Regions from separate parts of the Homo sapiens genome. Here region 2 is linked to region 1. Evidence: promoter capture Hi-C in 16 types of primary human blood cells and fetal thymus (Javierre and others, 2016). All regions are on one chromosome and are shown on one strand. The core of a region is centred on a gene start or on the middle of the fragment in contact, and the rest is flanking DNA. Distances in the headings are between cores, read along the strand shown. Region 1 holds the start of MIS18A (MIS18 kinetochore protein A). Region 2 has its middle 19 kb from the start of SCAF4.

Evidence for each region. The method cuts DNA at HindIII sites, captures the fragments that hold promoters and counts their contacts. A CHiCAGO score of 5 or more calls a contact.
Region 2: a fragment that was not itself captured here is called in contact with the fragment with the promoter of MIS18A in region 1 in 1 of 17 cell types (M1 macrophages); the score reaches 6.1 in M1 macrophages.

Annotation. Positions count from the first base shown.
Region 1 is chr21:32,277,291-32,281,422 of GRCh38, forward strand. It overlaps MIS18A (MIS18 kinetochore protein A), which reads right to left and starts at 1,759. Exons shown (of 5, transcript NM_018944.3): 1 at 1,391-1,759. The coding sequence starts at 1,724. MIS18A-AS1 (MIS18A antisense RNA 1) reads left to right here and starts at 1,915. Exons shown (of 1, transcript NR_046576.1): 1 at 1,915-3,709. RefSeq lists enhancers at 1,008-1,509, 1,510-2,009, 1,953-2,172. The HindIII fragment of the contact is 2,727 bases long and covers 1-2,027 here.
Region 2 is chr21:31,749,034-31,753,334 of GRCh38, forward strand. No RefSeq gene overlaps it. Among named protein-coding and RNA genes, the nearest start is that of SCAF4, 19 kb to the left of the region's middle. The HindIII fragment of the contact is 2,788 bases long and covers 171-2,958 here.

The DNA.
Region 1 (4,132 bases), core at 509-3,008:
GCAAAACAACGAAAAGAGCCCACATGGCAAAAAATACACTCTATCGAAACAAACAAATAAAATGAAAGATGTAACATCAAACACGTTATTCCTTAAAAACATGTAAACAAGGGAATCTCATTCAAACAAAGAGCTTTTCCTACCTAACCAAAAATCTGCTTTTTTCTTTTTTTTCTTTTTTGAGACGTTGTCTCGCTCTGTCTCCAGGCTGGAGTGCAGTGGCGCAATCTCGGCCCACTGCAACCTCCGCCTCCCGGGTTCAAGTGATTCTCCTGCCTCAGCCTCCGGAGTGGCTAGGATTACAGGCGCACACCACCATGCCCGGCTAATTTTTTATTTTGGCGAGGCTGATCTGGAATTTTTGTATTTTTAGTAGAGATGGGGTTTCATTCACCATGTTGGCAAGGATGGTCTCAATCTCCGGATCTCGTGATCCGCCCACTTCGGCCTCCCAAAGTGCTGGGATTACAGGCCTGAGGCACCGCGCTCGGCCTGGTTTGATTTTGATAGGTGCAAAGAGTTAATCTCAACTTTCAGTTAACTACTGGACACTGGTGTGCTCCTTTATTCCCAGTATTACACCAAGGAAAACGTTCCAGAAACGTCGATAAGCCGGTGGTGAATTACTGCCATCGGAACATTTACGGCATTCAAAGACAGAAAAAACTTCATCTTGAAAAATCACAATCCAAAAACAACAGCCATTCTTACACCAATTCATAAAAAATATGTGAACCACTTTATCCCTAAATACTGCAAAAACATCAAAATGAGGGAACAGTGGAACAACAGAGGTAAGAGGTAACTGCTAGAACCAGGATTAGAAACTAATTCCTGCCTTCTTCTGAACTCTTTTGCTACATCCTCCTTCCTCGCCAGTTTTCATGGGGTTGTTGGTGCTTTTATTGCAAGTTTCCTTCCCTTTCTTCCCTATAGCACTGTGTTCCGTCAACTCTGCGGCTCTATCACTGGAGGCTGTAGAGGCATCCGCTGATACACCAACAGCCTGCTAATTTCTATGGGGAGTAATAGTACTGGCTGCACCTCAAGTGCTTACAGTCTAGTTGACCATTTGTTTCTCTTTTTTTAGGGTCTTTAAAAGTGTTATTCTTTGTCGCCCTTTGTTTCTGAGTAATGCTCACGATGATGCTGATTCAACCACTGCTCTTCTGGGATCGGGGACCCCAGAAAAGAACCCACCGCCCGAGAGCCAAAGTGGAGGGGTGACCCTCCTCCCCTTTTCCTGCCACAGCTCACACTCTCAGACTTTTTGCTCTTAAAGTCCCTGGGCAGCCCCAAGGAGCCCCCGCCTCCTCCCGGGCCGCCCACGCGCGGCACCCCTGGAAGAAGGCGACCCCACGCCCCCCCTGCCCGGCTCGACCCAACTGACAGCGAAGCAGGATGCAGTTGGTGTCCTCCTGGCTGGCCACCCAGCTCAGCGAGTCGCCCAGCGGCCGCCGGCAGCCGGAGCACAGGAACACCAGCGGCCTCTCCTCCGCAGCCGCCGCCTCCTCCTCCAGCTGCGCCCTCTCCATGTCGGCCACCGACGCGTCTTCGCTCATGGAGCTCCACATGCTCGCCCACTTCTGCAACAGCTGGTGGCGGCTCGAGTCTTCGGAGAGTCTCTTGCCCAACAGCGAGGAGTCGCTGCATTTGCCCTTGTCGCCGCACTCACAGCCGCCAGCGCATCCTCTGCTACACCTCAGTGACCGAACGCCTGCCATTACCTACAAATCGCCCGCGCCCCAGAGCGCCATGGGAAAAAAAACCGCCGCTGCTCATGCGCGGGGCGGGGAGCGGTGGCGGAGGCCGAGAAGGGGCAAAAGCCTGAAGGGGGCGGGACGGCGGGCGGCCTCTAGTGCGCATGCGCGCCGTGCGGCCTTGGCCAAGCGTGATAGTCACTGCGCCTGCGTCAGGTTTTCCAGCCTGAAGAAATTGATGATGCAGACCTGTTTGCTTGTCTTCCTAAGGATTATTCACCCCTTTCCGTGGGAGGGGCAGCGTCACTGAGAAAGTTACGGGTTGCAAGCTTGAGTGTCTAAGAACCGCCTGGCGAGCTTCTTAAGCAGATCGCCAGGTTCCATCTTCGCAGACTCTGGTTCAGCAGGTAGCAGGTTAGCCCGAGAATCTGCATTTCTAACAAGCTCCTAGGCGTGCCCACGCTGTCAGTATTGGCAGCCCAACCTTTTTTGGGGGGTGGGGGGGGGAGTTTTTCTATGTTGCCGGTCTCGAACTCCTAGCCTTAAGCGATCTTCCCTACTCGGCCTCCCAAAATGCCAGGATCGCAAGCGTAAGCCACTGTGCCAGACCACCACCCTTTTTCTTCTTTTTTGTAAGTGGACTAATTATAGTTGTATATAAGCAGCTCCACTTTTGATGACCACTGCTCTATTTTGTCGGCTCCTGGGGACCTCCTTTCCATGAAGTGGAGAAGGAAGGGGATAGAGGAGTCCCTCATCACAGGGTCCTTTTGCGCACTGCTATCCCTGGAATGAGACCCTGGGAAGGGCCCCGGATCACTCAGGCTGTCACTGCAAGGAAAAAGTTGAGGAAGCAGCAGTGCCCCTGGAAAGCCTGGAAGTGTCCCTGCTGCTTGGATCAAGGAACAATTCGTCCTTGCAAGGAAGAAGCATCCCTTGTTGATGATAAGGACAGATTTCCTCAGCTGCCCCAGAAAGCCAGCCTCTGCCTAAAACACCGTAGGTCAGGAGGGAAAGCTGGCGGGGAACCAGCCAGCTGCACCACAGACAGTCTGGTGGTATACCTGGGAAGAAAGCTACCTGCAAGGACCTACTCTGTTCCTACTACGCTCTGGGTGTCCCCCAAGTCACTGCCTATTTTGCTTGGTTGCATAAACTATTTATGTAAATGTACTTCCAATTTTAGTGCTTACAGCCACTAGCAAAAAGCAAAAGCTTTGGAGTCAGTGGTCCTGGTTAACTTACCCCTCCCTCCACAAGGTAGTAACAGTGTAGGGAACTGTGGAAAAGGCTGTTTGCCTTCCCTGAGTCTAATTCTTCATGGAGTAAATGGAGTCTGTTTCTTCAGTACTACACCAAGTTGTTCATGAGGATCGAGTTTTCTAATATTCATGAAAATACTTTGTAAACCCTGGCACACCATGCTCATGTTAATCACCTTCTTACTGGAAGAAAATGCTTTAGATAATTTAGGCTTTTTTTTTTTACCCATAGAATTCCCTTCCTTCCTTCTGCTTTTTTTTTTCTTTTCTTTATTTTTTCAGAGATGATGTTTCAGTATGTTGCCCAGGCTGGTCTCGAACTCCTGGCCTCAAGCGATCCTCCTGCCTCAGCCTCCCAAGTAGCTGGAACTACAGGCATGCCTCACCATACTTTGCCCCTTCTACTTTTGTAGAGCCAAGCCTGACCTTCCTGGACTGTTGTTTTCAAGCATAATATCTCTGGTACAACATTGATACAATCCACATGAGTTCTTTAAGTAAGTGGCTAGTTACTTGGGGATTCAAAGGATCATCTTGTCTCAGACTTTGGGTTCCTATTGTCAATACTTAAATTCTATGATAGGATGCCCCAGGAAAGAAGGAATACAAGGCCGAGCTGCGTGGTGACTTTCAGGGGCCCTATTTTTGCCTTAGTAGGCCTTTCTCTCCATAAAACAGTTAATAAAAATTTCATTTTATAGTCACATTGCTATGAAGATGATTATATTAAAATGATATCATAAAACATTTTTAGACCTGTAAGTTCATTTATTGCTCTTGATTAAAAAAATTGAAACATTTTCATGGTCCTTCAGAATATCATGGTTTGTAGGCATGATGCCTCCTGCACATCATGGAGAAGTTGGCTGATGCAAAATGAATTCCTCTATAGGCACAAGTGTGTTTGTATTAATATTATGAATATAAAAACAAGGCTAGCCATGGTGGCTCATGCCTGTAACCCCGGCACTTTGGGAGGCTGAAGCGAGAGAGTCACTTGAGCCCAGGAGTTTGAGAACAACCTGGGCAACATAGAGAGACCCTGTCTCTACAAAGATTTCAAAATTAGCCAGGCATGGTGGTGCGCCCCTGTAGTCCCAGTTGCTTGTGAGGCTGAGGCAGGAGGATGGGTTGGGCTTGGGAGGTCGAGGCTGCAGTAAGCTGTGATTA
Region 2 (4,301 bases), core at 315-2,814, 530 kb before region 1:
CCATGTGCCACCATGCTTGGCTAATTTTTGTATTTTTAGTAGAGACAGGGTTTCGCCATGTTGGCCAGGCTGGTCCCAAGTGATTCGCCCTCCTTGTCCTCCTGAAGTGCTGGCATTACTGCCATGAGCCACCACGCCTGGCCTCTCGCTGTTTTCAAGTATCAGTGGGAAGCTTGTGACAGAGGCTGAAGCCCATAAAGCCTAAAATATTTGCTGCCTGGCTCTTTCCAGAAAAAGTTTGCCATCCCTGATTGTAACCTCATGCCTCATGAGGAAGACCACAGGGGTCCCCAGGAGAGTTTTAAGATATGTCCCTGCTAGGTGGGCAACATAAAGGATGAGTACCTAGACTGTATCTAAGGCGGCCATGGGCTAGGCTCTGACTCTCCCAAGGGGGAGAGAAGGGTGAAGACCTGCTTTGGTGGCATACCCCGTGCTATGACACTGGGATAGGAGGTGACGCTGAGTGTTTCCCAAGGACCACACTCAGGATTGAGTGGGAGAGAGAGCAGCCACCTGGAGACCTCAGCAGATAGAGGCTGGAGTGGATCAACTCCTGCCCAGGGATTAAAGACATCACAAGAGACCACCCAGAATAGGTGCATTCTTTGCAGTCAAAGGAAGTGGGGGAGAAAAGGTTGCAGAAAAGAATCTCTAGGCTGGGCACGGTGGCTCACGCCTGTAATCCCAGCACTTTGGGGGGCTGAGGCGGGTGGATCACCTGAGGTCAGGAGTTCGAGACCAGCCTGACCAACATGGTGAAACCCGGTCTCTACCAAAAATACCAGAATTAGCCAGGCGTGGTGGCACGTGCCTGTAATCCCAGCTACTTGGGAGGCTGAGGCAGGAGGATCACTCAAACGCGGGAGGCAGAGGTTGCAGTGAGCAAAGATTGCACCATTGCACTCCAGCCTGGGCAACAGAATGAAACTGTGTCTCAAAAAAAAAAAAAGAAGAAGAAGAAGAAGAAAAAAGAAATCTCTAAAGAGCTCACCAAAGTGAGAGAGAGCCTCCTCTAACCATCTGCCTGCCCTGAGACAGCATGAAGCCAGCCGCCAAGTTGGAGCTGGGCTAGACCCTTCCTTCTCCCTACCCACTGCTTCTGATGCACCTGGTGGGACTGCACCCACAACTGGCAAGTTTGGGGGACACATGAGTAAGGGAAGAGGAGGACCAGAAGGCCGTGTTACCTTCCCCGCTGCAGTCTTCCAGCCAAACAGTGAGGGAGATTTAACACTGTCATGTTTGGGATTCTGACATTCTTCTCTTTTTTGAGAGAGAGAGACAGGGTCTTACTCTGTTGCCCAGGCTGTAGTGCAGTGGCCTGATACTAGCAGCTCACTACAGCGTCAATCTCCTGGGCTCAAGCGATGCTGCCTCCTCAGCCTCCCAAGTAGCTAGGACTGCAGGCATGCGCCACCACACCCAGCTAATTTTTTCTTTTCTTTTCTTTTCGTTTTTTTTTTTTTTTTTTGAGACAAAGTCTCACTCTGTCGCCCAGTCTGGAGTGCAGTGGCGCGATCTTGGCTCACTGCAACCTCTGCTTCCCGGGTTCAAGCGATTCTTCTGCCTCATCCTCCCGAGAGCTGGGACTACAGGCGCGTGCCACCAAGCCTGGCTAATTTTTGTATTTTTAGTAGAGATGGGTTTCCCCATATTGGTCAGGCTGGTCTTGAACTCCTGACCTCGTGATCTGCCCTCCTCAGCCTCCCAAAGTGCCGGGATTACAGGCATGAGCCACCGTGCCCGGCCAATTTTTTCTTTTTTTGTAGAGACAGGGTCTTTCTGTGTTGTCCAGGCTTGGTCTCAAACTCCTGGCCTCAAGAGATCCTCCAGCCTCAGTCTCCTGAAGTGATGGGATTATAGGCATGAACCACCACACCCAACCCATTCTAACATTCTAACTACTAAATTGAAACTGTTTGTGACCTAATATGACTCATCTGTTCCAAGGAATGAGTGGAAAAGGTTTGGGACCTGCCAGAGTTTCCCAGCTCATGAGAAGGCCACCTCCACTAGGGAGAGCTTAGGGGGATGATAGGAACACACTGAAGTAAGGTTTGGTTTCTGGCATGACTCATGCTTGTTCAACATGCTGGATCCAATAACATATAGAATGAGTGTCCCTAATCCCCAAATCCAAAATATGAAATGCTCCAAAATGTACTAGTTTTTGAGAACTGATGTGACATCACAAGTGCAAAATTTCTCATTTGACCTCATGTGAAGGGGTGGCAGGCAAAACACAGTCGAAACTCTGTTTCATGCACAAAATTGTTTAAAATATTGTATAAAATTTCCTTCAGGCTGCGTGCATAAGGTGTATATGAAACATAAATGGCCAGGGGTGGTGGCTCACGCCTATAATCCCAGCACTTTAGGAGGCCGAGGTGGGTGGGTCACCTGAGGTCAGGAGTTTGAGACCAGCCTGGCCAACATGGCAAAACTCCGTCTCTACTAAAAATGCAAAAATTCGCCAGGCGTGGTGGCACATGCCTGTAATCCCAGCTACTTGAGAGGCTGAGGCACAAGAATCGCTTGAACCCAGGATGGGGAGGTTGTAGTGAGCCGAGATTGCGCCACTGCACTCCAGAGTGCACTGCAACAGAGTGAGACTCTGTCTCAAAAAAAAAAAAAAAAGCAAACAAACAAACAAAAAACCGTAAATGAAACAAACAAAAAACCGTAAATGAATTTTGTGTTTAGACTTGAGTTTCAACCCCAAGGTATGTATGTGCAAATATTCCAAAAAGTGAAAACATCTGAAATCTGAGACATTTCTGGTCCCAGGTATTTCACACAAGAGATATTCAACCTGTATTATTAAGCACATGCTGGACATCATGCTAAGCCCTTTTCATGCATTACACATGAAACCTCCCAACCAGCCTTTACTGTTAAGCCAATTTCACAGAAGAGGAACCGAAGCAAAGGAAAGATAGGCTATGGTCTAGAGGAAGCTTGTCCAACGCACAGCCTGTAGGCTGCATGTGGCCCAGGACAGCTTTGAATGCAGCCCAACACAAATTTGCAAACTTTCTTAAAACATTATGAGTTTTTTGTTTGTTTTTTGTTCCTGTTTTAGCTCATTAGCTATCATTAGTGTTAGCGTGTTTTATGTGTGGCCCAAGACATTCTTCTTCCCATGTAGCCCAGGGGAACCAAAAGATTGGACAACCTTGGTCTAGAGCCTCATTATTAAGTGGTGGAGATGAGATTCGAACCCAGGCAACCCAGGACCAGCCTGAGTTCTCAATCGCTATGTCATGCTGACTGGAAGCACAGCAACCCAAGCCTTGGTTCTCAAAAGGTTTGTTATTGGCTGAGAGGTCTTGACTTCCCCTAGAATCCCAGGGTTGCTGACTTTGTTTCTCCCGTCAGAGCCTGCCACAGACTCCTTATTGGATCCGAGTTGGCCAGAGACCCTTCAGACCTCATTGAATCAGCTGGGTCACAAGTGCCAAGTTGCTCGCAGTGCAGCCTGGACCGGCTCTGGAACTTCTCATTGTCAAAGCTAAGAGTCAATTGAGTCACCCACTGAGTCAGATGGCATACTCAAATGTATTGCACAAGTCTAAAATCCTGTGTAGGCCCACAAACATTGCACCTGAGTCCTAGTGATAGGGCATACCAGGCACAGCAACTTGCTTTTCATTTTGGAGAAAGAGCCCTAGTCCCCCAGATCATTGAACACCTTCCCCCACCTCTGCTCCAAATCCACTGTCCCAAATCTTCTGTAGCTTTGGGAGATTTCTCTTCTACCCATTGTTGTGAATTTTTTTACCCAGGCATCCTTGGTGTCTGCTACTTCAGCTCCCTAGATTCTATCAACTTGATGTCCCTTGAGATGGTTCAGGTTCCCACAGACCAAACTTAAGCCCAGCACCAGAGAGGTAACAATACTGAGGTAAGTAAGGAAAAGATGTACTATTGTCCTTGCCAGGTACAACAAACAAATGAACGAACAAATGAATGAACAACTAACCTGCTTCTGCTTCTAGTGTGTGTCATAATAGAGAAATATTTGGCAAATCCACGGATGCATACCAAGTGCCAGAGTCTCTGTATATCTGTTTTGGTCAAATGAAGCCACCTGGAACAGCACATGTAACTGATTAAGTTTATGATAATGCACTGTCATTCCCCAAGCCCCATCTGGTTTTCTTCACTAGTCAAACTAGAGAGTTAAAAGGGAATGTGATAGCAATCATCACCTCTGGATCTTTCATGTCTATTAATCTCTGAAATTCTCCGAGGGATATGGTATCACTTGTGATGTGCCATTTTGTACATGAAGAGCC